5 separate regions of the Homo sapiens genome follow, and all the other regions are linked to region 2. Evidence: promoter capture Hi-C in 16 types of primary human blood cells and fetal thymus (Javierre and others, 2016). All regions are on one chromosome and are shown on one strand. Each heading gives the region's core, a stretch centred on a gene start or on the middle of the fragment in contact. The rest is flanking DNA. Distances are from core to core; before and after follow the strand shown. Region 1 has its middle 9.4 kb from the start of ZNF441. Region 2 holds the start of ZNF44 (zinc finger protein 44). Region 3 has its middle 35 kb from the start of ZNF823. Region 4 holds the start of LOC124904639 (a long non-coding RNA gene). Region 5 has its middle 57 kb from the start of ZNF823.

Region 1 (4,472 bases), core at 665-3,164, 540 kb before region 2:
AAAAGAAGAAGAATCCTCTTTGACTCAATATTCTGGAAAAGAGATTGGTGGGAAAGGCTCTCTGACATGATCAAGGATGACTGAAAAACTTACACAAAAGCAAAGACAAATCTTTACTAACAAGGAACTCAAAAGATCTTCTGAAATCCTCTACAATGACAACAATAATGACATTATGATGATGTAGAAGATTTAAAAGATGCAGAGCCATTGATTGGGACCTGAACGCATTGCAGCAGTTTTTCAACAGGCAGAGGTGTTAAAGATTATTATCCTCAAGTAAGATCCCTCAGTGGAGCAAAGTCTCCACCTCACCTGAGTAATTACAACATGCCTACAAACACAGTAGATGATTCAAAGAAATAAAGGAATAAGATTCTTATAACAACATTTCTAACTAAGCATTTGCATATATGAAGACTGAACCCTCAGTACTTATAGATCTTCAGCCCTCAAGCCAAACAGATCCTGACTGTATTATTTAGCCTCCTCCAAAGAGTCAACATCTGCAATCAGAACCTTGTTCTTATAACATAGATGATTGTTCGGATGTTCTGTCAGAAGATTCCATTTAACCTGATCTCTCACTACGTATCTACAATACCACATGTCTAGCCACCTCAACAAATCACAGTGTTAGGCACCATACAGTGATCATCATCACTATCACTATACCTGGGTAATCAAGAGAGACAAACTAGGATTTTGCTGAATATTAACATACTCTTTCAGGTCAATTCTCAAAAGGAATCTGTGTGTATTGAAGGAAATTGTAACTTTCTGGCTGACATGTACTATTTAGGGAGGCCTGTGATGGTTGCCCTGTACTGAATAAGTATAGACTTTTTCTCAATAATTCCCTAAGCAATATAATAACTATTTACATAGTATTTACAATGCATGAAGTATTATAAATAATCTAAAAATGATTTACAGTGTGCAGGAGGATGTGCATAGGTTACATGCAACTATGTCATTTTTAAAAAGGGACTTTAGCATCTGTGGATTCAGGTATCCTTGGGAGGTGATAGAACCAATCTCTTGAATATATCAAGAGATAACTATATTCAAAATAAATGGAAACTACTTAAGTCTTTATAACATCTTTATATTCATAGGGCTTATCTCCAATGTGAATTCTTCCTCATATCTTAAATAAAATAAGATTAGCGAATGCTTCTCCCACATTCCATACATTTAGAGGGTTTCTCTTTAGTGAGTCCTTTTATGTCCATTAAAGTAAGTGGGAGAACTGAATGCTTTTTCACATCCCTTACATTCATACAGCTTCTCTCCAGTGTGAATTTTTTCATGTATACAAAGGGAACTGGAAAAACTGAAGGCTTTACCAAATTGCGTACAATCATGGTTTTGTTTCCAGTGAGTTCTTTCATGCCTTAGGAGGGAAAAGGACAAAAACAAAATGCTTTCTTACACTCCTTACGTTCATGGAGTTTCTTTCCAGTGTGAGTCCTGTAATGATTTCAAAAAGAACAGACATCGCTAAAGGCTTTCCCACATTTACATTTACAGTGTTTCTCCCCAGTGTGTGTCCTTTTATGTCTTTGTAGAAAACTGGAAGAATCAAGGGCTTTCTCACATACCTTGCATGTCTGAGATCCATCTCCGGTGTGCGTTTTCATGTGTCTTTGAAAGCTTGTGCATGAAAGAAGGCTTTCCCACATTGCTTACATTTATAGGGTTTCTCTTCAGTGTGAGTTCTTTCATGTCTTTGAACTAAACTGAGATAATGAAAGCTTTTCCCACATATCTTACATTTATGATTTCTACTTCCAGTGTATGTTCTTGTGTATATTTGAAAGCCTCTGAGATGATAAAATGCTTTTACACATTGCTTACCTTCATAGGGTTGTTTTCCAGTTTGAGCCTTTTCAAGTATTTGAGTGTAACAGAAACCACTGAAGGCTTTCCCACATTGTTTGCATTTATAAGGTTTCTCTCCAGTGTAAGTTCTTTCATGTCTTTGAAATGGTCTGTGAGAATTGAAGCCTTTCCCACATATCTTACATTTATGAGGCCTATCTCCACTGTGCATTCTCATGTGTGTTTGAAAGCTTCTGAGACGATTAAGTACTTTCTCACATTCCTTACAGTCACTAAGTTTCTTTCCAGGGTAAGGCCTTTAATGTATTCAAAGGAAGTGGCAATAACTGGAGGCTTTCTCACATTGTTTATGTGTATGTGGCTTCTCTCCATATTCCTGATACTCATGTGGCTTGTGTTGAGCATGAGCTCTATGGTAGCAATTAAGATGAACGACCCATGCTGACTTCTCCACACACACTGCTTTCACGTGGTTTTGCTCAAGGGAGACTTTTTTTTTTTTTTGAGACGGAGTTTCATTCTTGTTGCCCAGGCTGGAGTGCAATGGCTGATCTTGGCTCACTGCAACCTCTGCTTCCCAGGTTCAAGGGATTCTCCTGCCTCAGCCTCCCGAGTAGCTGGGATTACAGGCATTGTGCCACCACGCCCGGCTAATTTTGTATTTTTAGTAGAGACGGGGTTTCTCCATGTTGGTCAGGCTGGTCTCGAACTCCCAATCTCAGGTAATCTGCCTGCCTCAGCCTCTCAAAGTGCTGGGATTACAGGCGTGAGCCACCGAGCCCGGCCTCAAGGGAGATTTTTGTTGTTCACAATACCACCTGGAATGTGGCTGAAAGTTTCTCCAAATTATCTACCTCCTTTACTTTTACAGAATCAGTCTACCATATGATATCTGTAAAAACAGAGAAGTACAATTACTACAGGTTTGTTTATAAGTGTTTTTTATATATATTAATAGGTCTTAAATTTACATTGTTGACATTATCATGCAAAGCTTAGGTGTCATGCCCTGTTTGAACATGAACGGACTGAATGCTGTGCAAGATAACTCAACTGTGGCTATCATCGGAACAGTAATATTCACGTGGGAATTCTTAGTACTGTTTTCCAAGGAAATTATTTTGCAGACACACTTAACAGCTATGTCCCATTTAAGTATGTTTTTGAAGAAAATTTTCTAAGAGTGAATAAATTTAAGCCAGGATTATTCTTTTTTATTTATTTATTTATTTATTTATTTTGCTTGTTTTAAAATTTTCCTGTCTTTTTTTTTAGACGGAGTCTTGCACTTTCGCCTGAGCTGGAGTGCAATGGCATGATCTCGACTGACTGCAACGTCCTCCTCCCGGGTACATGCGATTCTCCTGCCTCAGCCTCCTAAGTAGCTGGGACTACAGGTTCACACCACCACGCCTGGCTAATTTTTTGTATCTTTAGTAGAGACAGGGTTTCACTATGTTGGCCAGACTGGTCTCGAATTCCCGACCTCCTGAACTGCGCCCCACCCCCCCACCCTTTCAAAGTGCTGGAATTATAGGTGTGAAAAATTTCCTGTCACTTTAAGAATTATTCCAAAGACATATCTTTCTCTTCCTAGGGCAAATTACCTTAGATTTCTTCTGGGAATTTTGTACTAATCTTTAATGTTTTGGTCTTCCCATTTCATTCCTAAAATGTAGACCCAGAAGAATCACTATATATTATTATAAAATTACATTGAGGCCGGGGGCGGTGGTTCACGCATGTAATCCTAGCACTTTGGGAGGCCGAGGTGGGTGGATCGTCTGAGCTCAGGAGTTCGAGACAAGCTTGGGCAACACAGTGAAACCCCGTCTCTACTAAAAAATACAAAAAAATATTAGCCGGGCATGGCGGCGTGCGCCTGTAGTCCCAGCTACTCGGGAGGCTGAGGCAGGAGAATCAGTTGAACCCAGGAGGCAGAAGCTGCAGTGAGCCAAGATCGTGCCACTACACTCCAGCCTGGGTGACAGAGCAAGACTCCATCTCAAAAAAAAAATAATAATAAATAAAAATAAAATTATATTAAAAATGTAAGATTTTATGTAGACTGCAGTTATGGATGATTTATTCACCAAACCACAGTTGACTCTTCAACAACACAGGTTTGAACTGCATAGATCTCCTTACATACAAATTTTCTTCAGTTTCTGCTACTACTGAGACAGCAAGACCAACCCCTCCTCTTATTCAGCCTACTCAATGTGAAGACAATAAGGATGATAACATTTATGATGCTCCACTTCTACTTAATGAAATAGTAAATATAGTTTTTTCTCCTTGTGATTTTCTGATTAACATTTTTCTCTGCCTTAGTTTATTGTGAGAAAACAATATGTAATGCATATGACATATAAAATATGTGTTAATTGAATGTATATCTTACCAGTAAGGTTTCTGGTCAACAGTAGGCTATTAGTAGTCAAGTTGCGGGGGAGAAAAAAGTTATTTGAAGATTTGTGACTGCATTGAGGGCTGGTGCCCCTAATCCCTGCATTGTTCAAGGGTCAAACGTATTTCTTTTATATTCTAAATCTTTGAACAGCATTGGTGACGAAGAAACAAATATTCGTAATTGACTAAGTAAAGACATGATGTCCCCCTTACCT
Region 2 (4,543 bases), core at 2,014-4,513:
CCCTGGAGGCAGAGGTTGCAGTAAGCTGAGATCGTACCACAGCACTCCTGGGTGATAGAGGGAGACCATGTCTCAAAAAAAAAAGAAAAAGGCTGCGTGCAGTGGCTCACACCTGTAATCCCAGAACTTTCATTGGCCGAGGCGGGAGGATCACCTGAGGTCAGGAGTTCAAGACCAGCCTGGCCAGCAAGGTGAAACCCTGTCTCTACTTAAAAATACAAAATTAGCCAGGCATGGTGGCATGTTCCTGTAATCCCAGCTATTCGGGAGGCTGAGGAAGGAGAATTGCTTGAACCTGGGAGGCAGAGGTTGCAGTGAACCAAGATAGTACCATTGCACTCCAGCCTGGGCAATATAGTGAAACTCCATCTCAGAAAAAAAAAAAAAAGAAAAGAAAAGAAAAAAAGTTTTTAAAAAATGGAATAGGGCCTGGGTCCAGTGGCTCATGCCTGTAATCCCAGCACTTTGGGAGGCCAAGGCAGGAGGATCACTTGAGCCCGGGACTTCAAGACCAGCCTGGCAACATGAGGAAACCCCATCACTACAAAATACTCAAAAATTAGTAGGGCATGGTGGGCATTCCCAGCTACTCCGGAGGCTGAGCCCAGGCAGTCTAGGCTGCCTAAGCTGCAGTGAGCCATGATGGTGCCACTACACTCCAGCCTGGGCAACAGAGGGAGACCCTGTCTTATAAAAAATAAAAATAATAAAAAAAAGGAATAGAAAACTACATATATATAATTTGTTTTCTGAATTCCAACTCTTTCTGGCCTCTTTAGAAACACTTTATCTTCTCTATAATCTCTAATGATAGGATGCCCTTTACAGTTAATAAAAAATTAAATTGGAAATAACTGAACAAATCTTTTCAGGGTAACTAACCCAGGGTGGGGCAGAACTGACTGGAACACAGACAAGTCTCACTCAACCGTCAGGTCAGGTCGTTCTATCACCTGGCACATCCGCCAGCCCCACGGTGCTCATTGAAGTGCTCAGCAACCACATTCCTAGGAGACACTGCCTTATGTCTTTTTCAGGCTCATGCAAAACCTCATTGGGTGGGTTTTTCAGTTTTTAGAAACAGTTTTCTAGCTTCACAGTCGGAGAGAGTCCAGAAGGCAGAAATCATTTGTCTTGTCCCCTGAATAACACCATCCAATTTTCTGATAAGCCATGCGTCACCAAGGAATGGAAACTAGGCTTGGGGAAAAAAATGTCAATGTCCCAGAGGTTAGGTTTTTTTTTTTTTTTTTTTTTTTTTGAGACAGAGTTTCCCTCTTGTCGCCCAGGCTGGAGTGCAATGGCATGATTGTGATTTCGGCTCACTGCAACCTCCACCTCCCAGGTTCAAGTGATTCTCCTGCCTCAGCCTCCCATGTAGCTGGGATTACAGGCACCTGCCACCATGCCCGGCTAATTTTTGTATTTTCAGTAGAGATGGGGTTTCACCATGTTGGCCAGGGTGGTCTTGAACCCCTGACCTCAGGTGATCCGCCCGCCTCGGCTTCCCAAAGTGCTGGGATTACAGGCGTGAGCCACCGCGCCCAGCCCAGGGGTTAGCTTTTTACAGGAATGATATACCAGAAGATTCCTCCCACCCCAGTGCATCCACCTGATCCTTTGGGAGGCCCCACTCCAACACCTCAGGCTGTCCTCTGGGAAGAGTGACCCAAGGGCCGATATCCACTAGGCCCTCCATGAGATTGGCAGCTTCCAGCATCTTAGGGTAGCCCCAGAAAGTTCCATAACACAGGGCCTGGAAAAGATACAGGGTGGGCTGAGGTCACATCACCCTGTAAAGGACATACTGAGAAGGCATCTGTGCCTAGGGGAGATAAAAGAGGCACAAAGGTTTGGTTTTTTTTACAGCAGTGTCAGGTGGTTATTCTCTTCTTCCTCACATGTGAAATGTTAAGGAAAACAAAATAAATCTGTTTAAAAAGAGCCATACATTGCTATCTGAAAACAAACGACAAAATTCTGTGTCTATTTGAAATATCGTCTTGCTGACAAAGGGTTCATAACGTTACTGGGAATTGAGGAGTGAAGTTAGCATATGGAAGGCTCTGGAAACCAAAAGATTTACTGTTAGCCCCAAGAGGAGTTAGGATGAAGGGACAGGTCTCAAAGACCCTGATGCCAATATCTTTGAAAGCCTCGGAGGAGAAATGGTCGCCCTTGGAAAGAAAGGACTGAAGAGCACAGAGACCACAGCTCCTCCCACACACAAACCCCACACACGAGTCTGGTTTGTGCCTAGTGACCCTCCCACCGTCACCGTGCAGCCTCCTCACCGGGCTCACAGGAACTGCGAGCCAGGCTGGAGGCGAGATTGCAGTTAGATATTAACCAGGTGCCCTCAGCCCCGCTGCTTCACAGGAAGCCGCCTCCCTGAGAGTCAGGTCACAGCAGACGCTGACCGCCGGCTTCCCCATTGGCCTGGGGATAAGATCTCTGAGAGTTGCTCAAGAGTCGTCTAAGTTCTTTCTCAGATCTTGAATTCCAGCGGAAAGGCTGGCGCCAAGCAGGCTGAAGACCCCACAAGGAAGCCCACTCAGCAGCAGAATGCGGTTTCTTCACCTCCAGTCCCAAGATTCACCCCTCACTTCTCCACCAACCAGCGACCCCACATCCCAACCACCCCCGTCCAGACCCCTAAACACCCCATCCTCAAACCTCTCACGGAGGCGGATCTAGGGTGTCCTCTCCTATTAAACCGTTTCTGCTGCAGCCCTCGGCGTCCGGGTGCAGTGACTTGGGCTGCGAACCTGTACTGGTTCCGCCGCACAATCTGGGGAGAAGCGGGGCTGAGGGCGCGGAGCTGCCCAGAGAGGGGCGCCGGGGCCGGGGCCGCAGTCGCAGCTCAGGGACGGGACAGGACGCCCGGGGTCCCGGCTGCCGGCCCAGCCCCACCCTGCGGCCAAACGGACCGAGGACCGAGGTGCGCAGGGGGCGCTCAGGTCCCAGACCCCAAAGACGCTGCGGCGAGGCCCGGGTCCCGCCACAGCCGGTTCCGACTGGTTCCGACCAGCCCTTCGCCCTGCCTCAGGACGCCGGGCCCCGCACACTCACCATTTCCCGGCTGTGCGGTGTCCCGGGTCCTCCCAACTCCCGTAGTCAGGGTAGGTCCCAGCGCGACAAAAGCCACCACAGATGTCCCAGGGCGTCTCTCAGTGACAGAATACGGAACAGAGGTCACCAGGGTGAAGAGGCCACTAGCTCCTGGAACGTCACACCCTCCTCTCTGCCTCGCGCCTGATTGACAATTCTCAGGAACCCGCCCACGACTTTGATTGGGTAGCCCTCCAGGTCCCGCCTCCTGGGCACTGAGTGACAGAAGAAGCGATCTCACAGTGCTGAGTGCAGCCGGATGAACAGGTTCCAGACCCGGCCCCTGGCAGGGCGGGCTTCCTCCCTGCGTTGTGACCCGACCCGTCCCGGGAAACGTTTGCCTTAAAGCGGAATTTCCTACCTGTACGCAGTGGGCCCTTTTTGCTTCTTCCTCCTGAACAATTGTGTGCAAGGAATCCCAGACTCACTGTCCAGTGGAGCCATCCCTTGGCCTCAGAGCAGGAGGGCAGCCGAGGCCACACAGGCCACACTGTAGCAGCGGGGGACAGGGGGTGGGTGGGTGGGGGGGTGGTGCTGATGTCCTCCAGGGACCAGGAATTTGGGATGAGGCTGTCGCCTGCAAGGTCAAGCCTTTCTTCCACTATAAGCGCTGGATGGGTTCTTTCTGCGCGCTACGCAAATAAAGACCACGGTATTGCAGTTAAAAAAAAAGTTTAATAAACACTAGGCCAGCTACGATACGTGAGAGACGGAGTTACTACTCAAATTATTCTCATCCAAGGTCCTCTGGTAGGGGTTTTTCAAGGGCAGTTTGGGAGAAAGGGTGGAGGTAGCTAGGCTTGCTACTGACTGGTTGGGGTGGGGATGAAATCACTGGGGATGGAATCTGTCCTCTTGGCAGTGCGTGGTGGCTCACCGCTGTAATCCCAATACTTTGGGAGGCCTAGGTGGGAGGATCGCTTGAGGCCAGTAGTTCAAGACCAGCCTGGACATAGAGTGAAACTCCGTCTCTATACTATAAGGGAGGAGACCACCCCTCATATTGTCTTATGCCCAATTTCTGCCTCCAAAGAAGAAGTAAAAACTAAAAGGCAGAAATGAAATCCACAGGCAGATAACCCGGCTTGTGCCCTGGGCTGGGTAGTTAAAAATCAACCTCTGACCTAACTGTGTTATCTATGATTCCAGACATTGTATGGAAAAGCACTGTGAAAATCCCTGTCCTGTTCTGTTCAGTTCTGGTTACCGGTGCATGCAGCCCCCAGTCACGTACCCACTGTTTGCTCCATCAATCACGACCCTCTCACGCGGACTCCTAGTTGTAAGCCCTTAAAAGGGACAAGAATTGCTCACTCGGGGAGCTCGGTTTTTGGAGACGTGAGTCCGCCGATGCTCCCAGCCCAGCTGAATAAAGCCCTTTCCTTCCACAACTCGGTGTCTGAGGGGTTCTTGTCTGCGGCTTGTACTGCTA
Region 3 (4,464 bases), core at 728-3,227, 590 kb before region 2:
GGTGCATGCCTGTAATCCCAGCTACTTGGGAGGCTGAGGCAGGAGAATCGCTTGAACCCGGGAGGCAGAGGTTGCGGTGAGCCGAGATCGCACCATTGCACTCCAGCCTGGGCAACAAGAGCGAAACTCTGTCTTAAAAAAAAAAAAAAAGCTGTCTCCCCACCTAGACAACCACTGGACTGACAGAATCATCTGATGTAGCAATGTTATAACTGTGGAGGCTATTGAAGCTTTGCAACTTCCATAAAAAGGATTAGACAGTAAACTATGGCTAATTGTGGTCATTTTATCACTTAGCACAATACAAGCTATCATCCCCACCCTTACCCCTGTTGCAGGCAGCTGCACATGGAGTGTTTTCCTCTAATTTGGCCTCGGGATCTCTCTCAGAAGCGTGGCTATAAACTTTAGTGCTGGCCAGGCGGGGTAGCTCATGCCTGTAATCCCAGCACTTTGGGAGGCCGAGGCGGGCGGATCACAAGGTCAGGAGATCAAGACCATCCTGGCTAACCTGGTGAAACCCAGTCTCTACTAAAAAAAATACAAAAAATTAGCCAGGCATGGTGGCGGGCGCCTGTAGTCCCAGCTACTCAGGAAGCTGAGGCAGGAGAATGGCGTGAACCCGGGAGGCAGAGCTTGCAGTGAGCCGAGATTGCACCACTGCACACCAGCCTGGGCCACTGAGTGAGACTCTGTCTCAAAAAAAGCAAAAACAAAAACAAACAAAAAGAACTTTAGTGCTGCATTGACGGGGCTCCAGGACACTTGGTTGTGGATATTTACAGTGTGACTTTCATGGGGTCTAATATTTAAGTGTTAACCCATAACCAAATGTCCTTCACAGGAAACTTGATTATACTGGCAGATGCCCTTATGGTTCTACCTCTGCCAAGTTAATCTCTACCAAGATAGCCAGATACCCACTCTCTACAGAGCCCTGACCTGGTAATAAGCTAGACATAGGTGTGGCAGTCAGGTGAGACGTGTGAGACAGCATCAGGCAGGCCAATATATGCACTGTGGGAGTTTCAGAAGGAGAAGAGACAGAGAAAGGTCAGGGGAGACTATTTGGAGAAATAATAGCTGCAAATATTCCAAATTAGATAAAAGCCATGAATGAATGCTGTCATCCAAGAAGCTCAATGAACTCCAGGTAGGATGAATGCAAAGAGAAGGACATGAAGACATATTATACTCAAATTGTCAAAGCCAAACATAAAGGGAGAACCTTGAAGGCAGCAAGAAAGAAGTGAATCATCACATATAAATGATCTTTCATAAGATCATCAGCAGATTTCTCATCAGAAGCGCTGAAGGCCAGAGGTAGTGGGCTGATGTATTCAAGGTACTTAAAAAAAAATGGCCACGGTGGCACATCCCTGCAGTCCCAGCTATTCCGGAGTCTGAAGTGGGAGGATCAGTTAAGGCCCAAGAGTTCAAGGCCAGCCTAGGTAACATGGCAAGACTCCATCTCAGAAACAAAGACAGCCAAGAATCCAATATCTGGCAACATTGTCTTTCAAAAGTGAGGAGGAAATTAAGGCATGCTCACATGAACAAAAACTGAGGTAGTTTTGTTCTTTTTGTTTTTGCCATTAGATGTACCCTGTGAGAAACGCAAAAGCCTTCTACAGGTTGAAATAGAACACTGGACAATATCTGGAAGGCGTAAGCCCAAATAAAGATCTCAGTAGAAACAAATGCATGGACAATTATAAATGCTAATATTATTGTACAATAATTGTGAACTCCAGTTTTTGTCTTTACATAATTGAAGATACAAATCCATTAAAAATTATTAGTCTAAAAGCTAGCATTTTAGACTTGGCTTTTGAACTCTATATTTTGTTTTTTTACACAGTTTAAGAGACTAATAAAAAAGAAACTAGGTTGGGCGTGGTGGCTCACGCCTGCAATCCCAACACTTTGGGAGGCTGAGGCAGGCAGATCACGAGGTCAAGAGATTGAGTCCATCCTTACCAACATGGAGAAATCCCATCTCTACTAAAAAAAGAAATACAAAAATTAGTTGGGCGTGGTGGCGCACGCCTGTAATCTCAGTTACTTGGGAGGCTGAGGCAGTAGAATCACTTGAACCCAGGAGGCGGAGGTTGCAGTGAGCCGAGATTGCACCACTGCACTGCAGCCTGGAGACAGAGAGAGACTCCGTCTCAAAAAAAAAAAAAAAGAAAGAAAGAAACGAATGCACCGAAAATATGTTTGCGTTTTTGAATACATAAAGTATAAAGATGTAAATTTATGACACCAAACTGAAAGGGGTGTGAACAGGCATGCCATGGAGCATTGTATTTGCATGCTATTTATGTTAAATTGGCATAAATTTAGAATGTTATGGCCTTAGGATGGTAAACGCAATCCCCATGGTAATTAACAGAGCAGTAGTGTATACACAAAAGGAAACAATAAAGAAATTTAAATGTTTCACTACAAAAAGCAATTAAAAGCAAAATAATGCAGAAATGCATGAAATGAGAAGAAAAAAGCTACAAGGCATATTGAAAACAAATAGGAAAATGACAAAACCAAGTCCTTTCTTATCAGGAATTACTTTATCTATTTATTCATTTTGAGACACAGTGTTGCTCTGTCGTCCAGGCTGGAGTGCAGTGGTACGATCTCGGCTCACTGCAACCTCTGCCTCCTAGGTTCAAGTGATTCTCATACCTCCAAAGTAGCTGGGATTACAGGCATGCAATTCTCCTGCCTCAGCCTCCCAAGTAGCTGGGATTACAGGCATGCGTCACCACACCCGGCTAATTTATTTCTATTTTTAGTAGAGACAGGGTTTCACTGTGTTGGCCAGGCTGGTCTGGAACTCCTGGCCTCAAGGGATCTGCTCACTTCGGCTTCCCCAAGTGCTGGGATTACAGGCGTGAGCCGCAGCGCCTGGCAATGTGAGTTAATTTTAGTGTATAATGTGAGAAAGGTTCTCAGTTCATCTTTCTGCAGGTCAATATCCCATTTTCCCAGCACATTGTTGAAAACCCATTCCCTATGAAAGCATCTTGGCCCATTTGTTGAAAATCAATGAGCCATAAACAAAGAGTGTCTTAGTCCATTTGTGCTGCTATCGTGGAATACCACAGACTGGGTAATTTATAAAGAATAGAAATTGACTTTCTCACAGTTCAGAAGGCTTAGAAATCCAAGAAGACACTGGCATCTGGCTTCAGCATTGCTGCATTCTCACAGGGTGGAAGACAGGAGGGCAAGAGAGGGCAAATTGCATTCATCAAACCCTGTATAATGCCATTAATCTATTCACGAGGGCAGAGTCCTCATGATCTAATCACCAAAAGGCCCCTCCTCCCAATAGTGTTGCAGTGGGAATTAAGTTCTGACTTATAAATTTTAGAGAGTACACAAATATTTAAACCATAGCTAAGGGACTCTCAATTCTGCCCTGCTGGTCTATATAGCTGACAATTTGCCAGTAAGTCTGGTTACTTTACTACCCACCCTGATGCTGAAGCATCCCATTCCGTCCCACATGATAGTCATGCAGGCATAGAAATGGTTCTAAAGCCGCAAGAGCATCCCTTAGACAACCTAGATGTACTTCTATTTTAGGATACATCCTGTAAAAGAAATTTTCTGAAGAACATAATAATGGGTCATGCCATGGTTGCTCCACATGAAACGCTCGGGGCACTGTCTTCACTCACTGTAAAATCAGCCCAAGGACTGAACTCATAGCTCTTAGGAAAGCTTGCACATTGGCAAACAAGAAAACTGACACAGAGAGTAAGCTTCCACACCCACAATCTCAGCTACTCAGGAGGCTGAGGCAAGGGGATTCTTGAGGCCAGGAGTTTGAGGCCAGTTTGAACCACACAGCCAGATTCCACCTCAAAAAGAAAAAAGAAAAAGAAAACGGCTACAATTTACACGGATACCAGATACGCTTTGGGAGTCTTTCATGCAGTGGACACAGTCTCAAAACCTGGAGGATTTACAACTTGTTCTGGTTACTTATTACCTATCATCTATTACCAATGGACATGTAATACATGCACTATTACAGGCTATTCATCTCCCTCCCAAAGTGGCTACTGTTCACTGTTCAGTCCATATTAAGGAGACTTATCCTATGTCTTTCAGGAATGATAGGGCTTAAATACTGTTAAATAGAAAGACAGACATGTACCCCTTTATCCTTTCTCCCCCCAATTTATAAGCCTGCCTTTTTTTTTTTTTTTTTTTTGAGGTGGGGTCTTGCTCTGTCACCCAGGCTGCAGGGCAGTGGCATGATCACAGCTCAGTGCAGCCTCAACCTTCCAGGCTCAAGTGATCCTCCAACTTCAGCCTCCAAAGTAGCTGAGATCACAGACATGTGCCACCATGCCCAAATAATTTACTTTTTTATTTTTATTTATTTATTTATTTATTTTTATTTTTATTTTTTTTGAGACAGAGTCTCGCTCTGTCGCCCAGGCTGGAGTG
Region 4 (4,158 bases), core at 924-3,423, 520 kb before region 2:
TTATGTATTTTGCAACAATTTGAAGCAGTTCCTGCCAAGCTTGACCTAATTAGGCTCCATCATTGATTAAATAAAAAAGAGAACTTTCTTTCAGACCTTTGGATAGTCCACAGATGGATTGAAAAATACAAAGGTGCAATAACTTACAAATAAGATCTGATCTGCTCTCTCTAGGGATCCACATTGGAAATTTGGTCTGCTGTTTTCAAGACTGGTGCTGATGTGAGGAGGGATTGGGACAAGGACAAATAAAAACTCCACAAAACTTTCCTACTATTTGTCACCTTCCTTATTCTATTTGTTTATCTCTGTGTTAATAGTACAGGGTACTGAATATAATATATTCACCATACTTTATCTGTTTTTGGAAAGCTGTTGCTTTCTTGGTTAGAAGGATTTTAGCATTTTTAGATGTTTGTGACTTCTATTAGATTTGGTCATGTAATTTTTAATGATGACAAAAAGGTCTGTTTAGGGATTTAGGGAAATATTATAGATATTCATGAGAGATGACATTGAGTTTTTTTCTAAGAACATATGCAATCTTGGCCCTTCTTTTCTTCTTTGACATTACTTAATAAAGTTTAATTTTTCCATTGGGATGGTAAAATATCCTTATTAGTCTTTTGTCATACTTAACTACATATGTTCTACAGTAAACCAGTTGCTAGCTTCCAAATGTTCTCTCTTAGTGTAGTCACATAGCACAGGCTAAATCCCCCAAGGCACAAGGGTCACTCATTACAGACACAGTGACCAGAGTGTTTTTTCCCTTTTTTTTTTTTTGAGGCGGAGTTTCTCTCTTGTTGCCCAGGCTGGAGTGCAATGGCGCAATCTCGGCTCACCGCAACCTTCGCCTCCCGGGTTCAAGCAATTCTCCTGCCGCAGCCTCCTGAGTAGCTGGGATTACAAGCATGAACCACCATACCGGGCTAATTTTTTGTATTTTTAGTAGAGACAGTGTTTCTCCCTGTTGGTCAGGCTGGTCTCGAACTCCTGACCTCAGGTGATCTGCCTGCCGCGGCCTTCCAAAGTGCTGGGATTACAGGTGTGTGCCACTGTGCCTGGCCTCAGAGTGTTTTTTTCATGGCTTAGTCTGTTTTTTGTTGCTTATAACAGAATACTTTAACCTGGGTAATTTATAAGAAATGATATTTATTTTTTACACTTCTGGAGGGTGGGAAGCCCAGCATCAAGGCTGGGCATCTGGTGAGAGCCTTCTTGCTGGTAACTCTCTTTTGCACAATAGGTAGTAGGACTTTGTCATGACAAGAACTGCAGACCCACTGTAGAAATAGAAATGAGGAGTGATTCAGGCAATAAGACTCACTTTCTTAACTTACCAACAAGAGGCGTGTTCCTATTCAACTGTTACTTTACAAAACATGTTCATTTCTAGGATCAGAATTGTGTGGGATAAAATGAGTGTAAAGAGAGAATAAGAGTGGGTTTACCATGTTCTTGAATAAATGCTTGGAAACCACAGCATCATGTGAAGGTTATGAAGTGAATTTACATTCCCAGTGCCTTCAGTTTTAATATTCCTCCTCTGCACATGTGAAATATTTCAGGACTCAGTGGCATTTGAGGATGTGGCTATAAACTTCACCTGTGAGGAGTGGGCTTTGCTGGGTCCATCACAGAAGAGTCTCTACAGAGATGTGATGCAGGAAACCATCAGAAACCTGGACTGTATAGGTAAGGATGTCATCATGTCTTCACTTAGTCAATTAGAGACATTTGTTTCTTGGTCATCAATGCTGTTCAATTATTTGAAATATGGAAGGGTATATAATTGGCCCTTGAACCAGCCACCCAAGCAGTCATACATCTTCTCCCGCACAACTTAACCACTAGTAGCCTACTGTTTACTGGCAGCATTACTGGTAACATAAACAGTTGATTAATACATGTATTATATGTCATATGTATTACATGCTATATATTCTCACAGGAAAGTAAGCTAGAAAAGGAAAATATTCATTAGGAAACCATAGGTAAGTGGAACATTATTTAGTATTCATAGAAAATACAACATTACAAAGTTTTCATTCTGATTGTCTTTACATTGAGTAGACTGAATAAGAGGAGGGGTTGGTCTTGCTGTCTCAAGAGTAGCAGAGACTGAAGAAATTCATATGTAAGTAGACCTGTGCAGTTCAAACCTGTGTTGAAGACTCAGCTGTAGTTTGGTGTGTGAATCATGCATGATTGTAGTGTACATAAAATCTTACAGTCTTTCTATAATTTTATAATAATTTATAGTCATTTTTCTGGTTCTAACTTTTAGGAATGATATGGCAAAATCATGATATAGAAGAAGATCAGTACAAAGATCTCAGAAGAAATCTAAGGTAATTTGCACTCACAAGAGAAAGCTGTGTCCTTGAAGTGATTCATAGTATGCCAGAAATTTTATTTTATTTTGTTTGTTTTAGAGACAGTGTCTCACTTTGTTGCTCAGGCTGGAGTACAGTGGTATGATCATAGCTCGCTGTAGCCTCGGACTCCTGTGCTCAATGGTCCTCCCATTTCAACCTCCTGAGTAGCTAGGGTTACAGGCATGCACCACCACATGTGGCTACATATTTAGTTTTTGTAGAGATAGAGTCTTGCTGTGTTTGACCAGACTCATCTCCAGCTCCTGTCCTTAAGCGTTCCTCCTGCCTTGGCCTCTCAAAAGGCAGGTATTGCAGGCATGAGCCACTGTGACCAGCCCAAAATTTTAAAAAGAAGCAAGGAAAATTAACAAGCCCACCTTAAATTTATTTATTCTTAGAAAATTTTCTTCAAAAACATATACTTAAATGTGACATGGCTATGGCTATTCAGTGCCTGCAAAATAGTTCCCTTGGAAACAGTATTAAGAATTCCCATATGAATGTCACTATCTTCAAAACAGCTGGGGTTGAGTTACCTTGTACATCATTCTGTCCATTCATGTTCAAAGAGGGCATGAGACCTACACTTTGCATGATAATGTTAGAAATGTAAATCCAGGCCAGGTGCGATAGCTCACACCTGTAATCCCAACTATTTGGGAAGCTGAGGCAGGAAGACTGCTTGAGCCCAGGTGTTCAATCAGCCTGGGCAACGTGGCAAGACGCCCTTTCTACAAAAAATACAAAAATTAGCTAGGCATGGTGGCCTGTGCTTGTGGTTTCAGTTACTTGGGAGGCTGAGACAGGAAGGTTGCTTGAGCCCAGGAGGTCAAAGCCGCAGTAAGCCCTGTTCACATTACTATACTCCAGCCTGGGCAACAGAGCAAAACCCAGTTTCAAAAAAAAAAAAAAAAAAAGAAAAAGAAAAAGAAAGGCTGGGTATGGTGGCTCACCCTTGTAATCCCAGCACTACAAGAGGTCAAGGTGGGCAGATTGCTTGAGCTCAGGAGTTCAAGACTAGCCTGGGCAACATGGTGAAACCTCGTCTCTATAAAAAATACAAAAATCTAATCTCAGCATTTTGGGAGGCTGAGGTGGGCAGATCACGAGGTCAGGAGATCGAGACCATCCTGGCTAACATGGTGAAACCCCGTCTCTACTAAAAATACAAAAAATTAGCCAGGTGTGGTGGCAGGCGCCTGTGGTCCCAGCTACTTGGGAGGCTGAGGCAGGAGAATGGTGTGAACCCGGGGGAGGTAGAGCTTGCAGTGAGCCGAGATTGCGCCACTGCACTCCAGCCTGGGCAACAGAGCGAGACTCCGTCTCAAAAAAAAAAAAAAATCAGCCATGTGTGGTGGCTTATGCCTGTAGACCCAGCTATTTGAGAGGCTGGGGTGGGAGGATGGTTTGAGTCCGGGAGGTGGAGGTTGCAGTGAGCTGAGATCACACCACTACACTCCAGCCTGGGCAACAGAGCGAGAACCTGTCTCAGAAAAAAAAAAGAAAAGAAAGAAAGAAAAGAAATGTAAATCCAATACTTATTAATACAAAATCATTTATAAACAAACCTTTACTAATGTACTTCTTATTTTTTACAGATGTCATATGGTAGAGAGAGCCTGTGAAATTAAAGATAATAGTCAATGTGGAGGACCCTTTACCCAGACTCAAGACAGTATTGTGAACGAGAAAATACCTGGAGTAGATCCATGGGAAAGCAGTGAGTGTACAGACGTCCTCATGGGTCGTTCATCTCTTAATTGCTACGTTAGAGTTG
Region 5 (4,218 bases), core at 1,484-3,983, 610 kb before region 2:
AGTGTGACTTGGTCGAAATTAAAAAAAAAAAAGTTCCACATATCCCTAGGGCAGAGGCACACTGCAGCCAAGCTCTTTGCTAAGGAAAAACAAAAGTGACCTGTGCTTCAGTTCCCAATAAATACTTATAAGTATTGTCCTTTCCATCTGAGACCTCCTCAGCCTGAACTTTATATCACTATCAGCATTTTGGTCACAACCATTCAGCAAGCCTCTACAAAGTCTCAAACTCCCTCATCTTCCTGTTGTCTTCTGAGCCCTCCACACTCTTCCAAACCTCTGCCTGTTAAGAAGTTCCAAAACCAATTCCACATTTTCAGATATCTTGATAGCAATGCGCCACTTCTCAGTACCAATTTTCTTGTATTATTCCATTCTTGCAGCATGATAAAGAAATACCTGAGACTGGGTAATTTATAAAGAAAAGAGGTTGAATTGGCCCATGATTCTGCAGACTGCACAGGAAGCATGGTACTGGAAGGATGGCATCTGCTCAGCTTCTAGGGAGGCCTCAGGAAACTGACAATCATGGTGGAAGGCAAAGGGGGAGCAGCAGTTCACACGGCCAGAGAAGGAGCAAGAGAGAGCAGGGCAAGGTGCCACAGACTTTTAAATGACCGGTTCTCACAAGAACTTACCATCTCAAGAACAGCACCACAGGGATAGTGCTAAACCATTCATGAAGGACCACCATCCAGTCACCTCCCACAAGGCCCCACCTTCAATATTGGGAATTACAATTCGACATGAGATTTGGGTGGAGATTCAAATCCAAACCATGTCCTTTTGCTTTTTTCTGTTTTGTTTGTGGAGTAGATTTTTCTCCATCCCTTTACTTTGAGCCTAAGGGTGCCATTGCATGTGAGATGGGTCTCTTGAAGACAGCATACCATTGGATCTTGCTTTTTTATCCAAGTCACCACTGTGCCTTTTAATTGGGGCATTTAGCCTGCTTACATTCAAGGTTAGTATTTATATGTGTAGATTTGATCCTATCATGTTGTTAGCTGGTTATTATGCAGACTTGTTTGTGTGGTTGTTTTATAGTGTCACTGGTCTATGTATTTAAGTGTGCTTTTGTGGTGGCTGGTAATGGTTTTTTCTTTCCATATTTAGCACTCCCTTCAGGACCTCTTGTACAGATGTTCTCTTTCATTGTAATCACACAGGATGGGCTATGTCACCCAAATAACATGTGGTGGTGATTAACATGTGAAATGTTACCTGCCAGGGTCACGCATTACAGACTCTGTGCCCAGAGTATTTTTTCATGGCTCTTGTTTTCTGTTAGTTGTAATAGAATACCTGAAATTTGGCTGGGCGCGGTGGCTCGTGCCTGTAATCCCAACACTTTGGGAGGCTGAGGCAGGTGGATCATTTGAGACCAGGAGTTTGTGACCAGCTCAGCCAACATGGTGAAACCCCATCTCTACTGAAATATAAAAACAAAGCCGGGCATGGTCATGCATGCCTGTAATCCCAGCTACTTGGGAGGCTGAAGCATGGGAATTACTTGAACTGGGAGGTCGAGGCTGCAGTGAGCCAAGATTGCCCCCCCTGCATTCCAGCCTGTGCAACAGAGCAAGACTGTTTCCAAAAACAAAAAAAAACAAAAAACCCTGAATTTGGGTTAATATATAAAAAATACTTATTTTGTACAATTCTCAAAGTTTGGAAATCCAAGGGCAAATGGGGTACATCTGGTGAAAGCTTCTTGCTCTTTACTGTCTGAGGCAGTGGAGATCACTAGGCACGGGGGCTGATTGTGCTAACTCTGGTCTCTTTCTCTTCTTACAAGGCCACAAGTCTTATTTGTAGGATAACCCATTCATTCATTACCTCTTCAATTCGTCAGTGGATTAATCCATTCATGAGGCAGAGCCCTCATGCCTCTTAAAGGGCCCTGCTTTCAGTACTGACACATTGGGGATCAAATTTCGTTATGAGTTTTGGAAGGGGAAATTATTCACACTTAGCAAGGGCTGATTAGGTACACTGCTTCTGCTGAAAATACCACACTCTCAGAGGGAAAATGGGAATTAGGCAAATACCATATTGTTTGCATAAGTAGTTAAGGCACACACAACCCCATTTATTAGTTATGTTGGTGCAGATCTTCCCAAATCTAGCCCCTAGATACCATCAAAGTTCAACTTTCTAAATAAACGTGTAAGAATATGCAGTCTCAGAACTGCTAATTTGTCTCTTATAGACAGTATGTTTGGGACTTTCTCATGAGAGGTAATACTGACCCACTATACAGAGAGACACTAGAGGTGATCCAGGCAGCATATCTCAGTCTCTGAAATCACCAATGAGAGGCATGTCCTTGTTGGCTGTCACTTTACTGAATATATTCAATTCTAGCATCAGAATTGCTGTGATGGAGAAAGTGAGTGTAGACAGAAGACAAGAGGCTGACCAAGTCATTGAATAAATTTTTGGAGTCCACAGCATCGTGTGAACTTCTGAAGTGAGTATAGATTCCTAATGCTGTTGGTCTGAACCTTCCTCCTCTGCCATGTGGGATGTTTCAGGACTCAGTGACCTTTGAGGATGTGGCTGTGAACTTCACCCAGGAGGAGTGGGCTTTGCTGGGTCCTTCCCAGAAGAATCTCTACAGAGATGTGATGTGGGAAACCTTCAGGAACCTGATGTCTGTAGGTAAGGGTGACATCATTTCTTCACTTAGTCAATTATAGAACAAGTGTTTCTTGGTCTTCTGCATTGCTCAATGATTTGGAACATGGTAGGGAATACAGCAGACCCTTGAACAAGGTGGGGGTTAGAGACTCTGATCGTCCACACAGTCTGTTAGGTGCCTGTGAATTTAGAGTCCCTAAAGAGTTAACTACTAATAGACTGCTGTTGACCAAAGCTGTATTGATAACAGAAAGTCAATTAATACATTTTGTATGTTTGGTATATATCTATATACATATATATGGCCAGGTGTGGGGGCTCACACCTGTAATTCCAGTACTTTGGGAGGCTGAAGTGGGAGGATTGCTTGAGCTCAGGATTTTGAGACTGGCTGTAGCAATGAAGTGATACCCTGTCTGTATAAAAAATAAAAAAAGTAGCCATGGATGGTGGCACACCTGTGTTCCTAGCTATTCAGAAGGTTGAGGCAGTAGGTTCGCTTGAACTGGGGAGGTTGAGCTTGCAGTGAACCATGATTGCACCACTACAGTTTAGCCTGGGCAACAGAGTGAGTCCTTGTCTCACTCTGTGTGTGGCTGGGCATGGTGACTTGCGCCTGTAATCCCATCACTTTAGAAGGCTGAGGCAGGTGCATCACTTGATGTCAGGAGTTTGAGACCAGCCTGGCCAACGTGGTGAAACCCCATCTCTACTAAAAATACAAAAATTAGCTTGGTGTGGTGGCATGCACCTGTAATCCCAGCTACCTGGGAGGGTAAGGGAGGAGAATCACTTGAACCTGGGAGGCAGAGGTTGCAGTGAGCCAAGACCACGCCACTGCACTCTAGCCTGGGCAAGAGAGAGAGACTCCGTCTCAAAAAAAAAAAAAGTGCGTATGTGTATATATGTTTAAGACAGGGTCCCTTGCTAGGTCTAGAGGCGAGTGCCACCATCCCCAGCTAATTTTTGTATAATTTTTTTGTAAGGTGGAGGGTCGTGAACTCCTGGCCTCAAGCATTCCTCCTCCCTAGCATCCCAAAGTGCAGGGATTACAGGCATGAGCCACCATGCCAAGCCTGTTTGGTATGTTATGTACTGTATTCTTATAATACAGTAAGCTTTTCTTTTGAAAAGGTTATCAAAAAAATTAGAAGAGAAGATATGTTGACTTTAGTAAGTGCAAGTAGATTATCAAGGTGTTCTTCCTTGGTTGTCTTCATATTGAGTAACCTGAGCAAAAAAGGAGGGTTTGGTCTTGCTCTCTTAGAGATGGCAAGAGCTGATGAAAATGTGCATGAGTGAACTGTGCAGTTCAAAACCATGTTGGTCAAGGTTCAACTGAACTTTGGTGAATAAATCAGCCATGGCCACAGTGTCCCATGAACATAGAATCTAATAATTTTTCTATAATTTTGTAATAACTTATGATGACTTTTATGGGTCTGCATTTTAGGAATAAAATGTGAAGACCAGATCATTGAAGATCAGTACAATAATTCCAAAAGAAATCTAAGGTCATTTGCACTTACAACCTAGAGCTATGTCCCTTAAGATATTGTTAGAATGACAACAAAT

What was found. The method cuts DNA at HindIII sites, captures the fragments that hold promoters and counts their contacts. A CHiCAGO score of 5 or more calls a contact.
Region 1: a fragment that was not itself captured here is called in contact with the fragment with the promoter of ZNF44 in region 2 in 1 of 17 cell types (M0 macrophages); the score reaches 5.6 in M0 macrophages.
Region 3: a fragment that was not itself captured here is called in contact with the fragment with the promoter of ZNF44 in region 2 in 2 of 17 cell types (M2 macrophages and erythroblasts); the score reaches 5.8 in M2 macrophages.
Region 4: a contact is called between a fragment that was not itself captured here and the fragment with the promoter of ZNF44 in region 2, in 1 of 17 cell types (M2 macrophages). The highest score is 5.6, in M2 macrophages.
Region 5: a fragment that was not itself captured here is called in contact with the fragment with the promoter of ZNF44 in region 2 in 1 of 17 cell types (erythroblasts); the score reaches 5.3 in erythroblasts.

Annotation. Positions count from the first base shown.
Region 1 is chr19:11,755,336-11,759,807 of GRCh38, forward strand. No RefSeq gene overlaps it. Among named protein-coding and RNA genes, the nearest start is that of ZNF441, 9.4 kb to the right of the region's middle. The HindIII fragment of the contact is 318 bases long and covers 1,756-2,073 here.
Region 2 is chr19:12,291,620-12,296,162 of GRCh38, forward strand. ZNF44 (zinc finger protein 44) reads right to left here and starts at 3,264. Exons shown (of 4, transcript NM_016264.4): 1 at 3,073-3,264. The coding sequence starts at 3,075. RefSeq lists a silencer at 2,819-3,048 and an enhancer at 3,599-3,648. The HindIII fragment of the contact is 16,141 bases long and covers 1-4,543 here.
Region 3 is chr19:11,701,681-11,706,144 of GRCh38, forward strand. No RefSeq gene overlaps it. Among named protein-coding and RNA genes, the nearest start is that of ZNF823, 35 kb to the right of the region's middle. The HindIII fragment of the contact is 3,499 bases long and covers 229-3,727 here.
Region 4 is chr19:11,776,040-11,780,197 of GRCh38, forward strand. It overlaps ZNF441 (zinc finger protein 441), which reads left to right. Exons shown (of 4, transcript NM_152355.3): 2 at 1,572-1,698; 3 at 2,291-2,354; 4 at 3,980-4,158. LOC124904639 (a long non-coding RNA gene) reads right to left here and starts at 1,598. Exons shown (of 2, transcript XR_007067141.1): 1 at 1,455-1,598; 2 at 1,136-1,286. The HindIII fragment of the contact is 4,273 bases long and covers 38-4,158 here.
Region 5 is chr19:11,680,009-11,684,226 of GRCh38, forward strand. It overlaps the pseudogene ZNF833P. Among named protein-coding and RNA genes, the nearest start is that of ZNF823, 57 kb to the right of the region's middle. The HindIII fragment of the contact is 2,051 bases long and covers 1,709-3,759 here.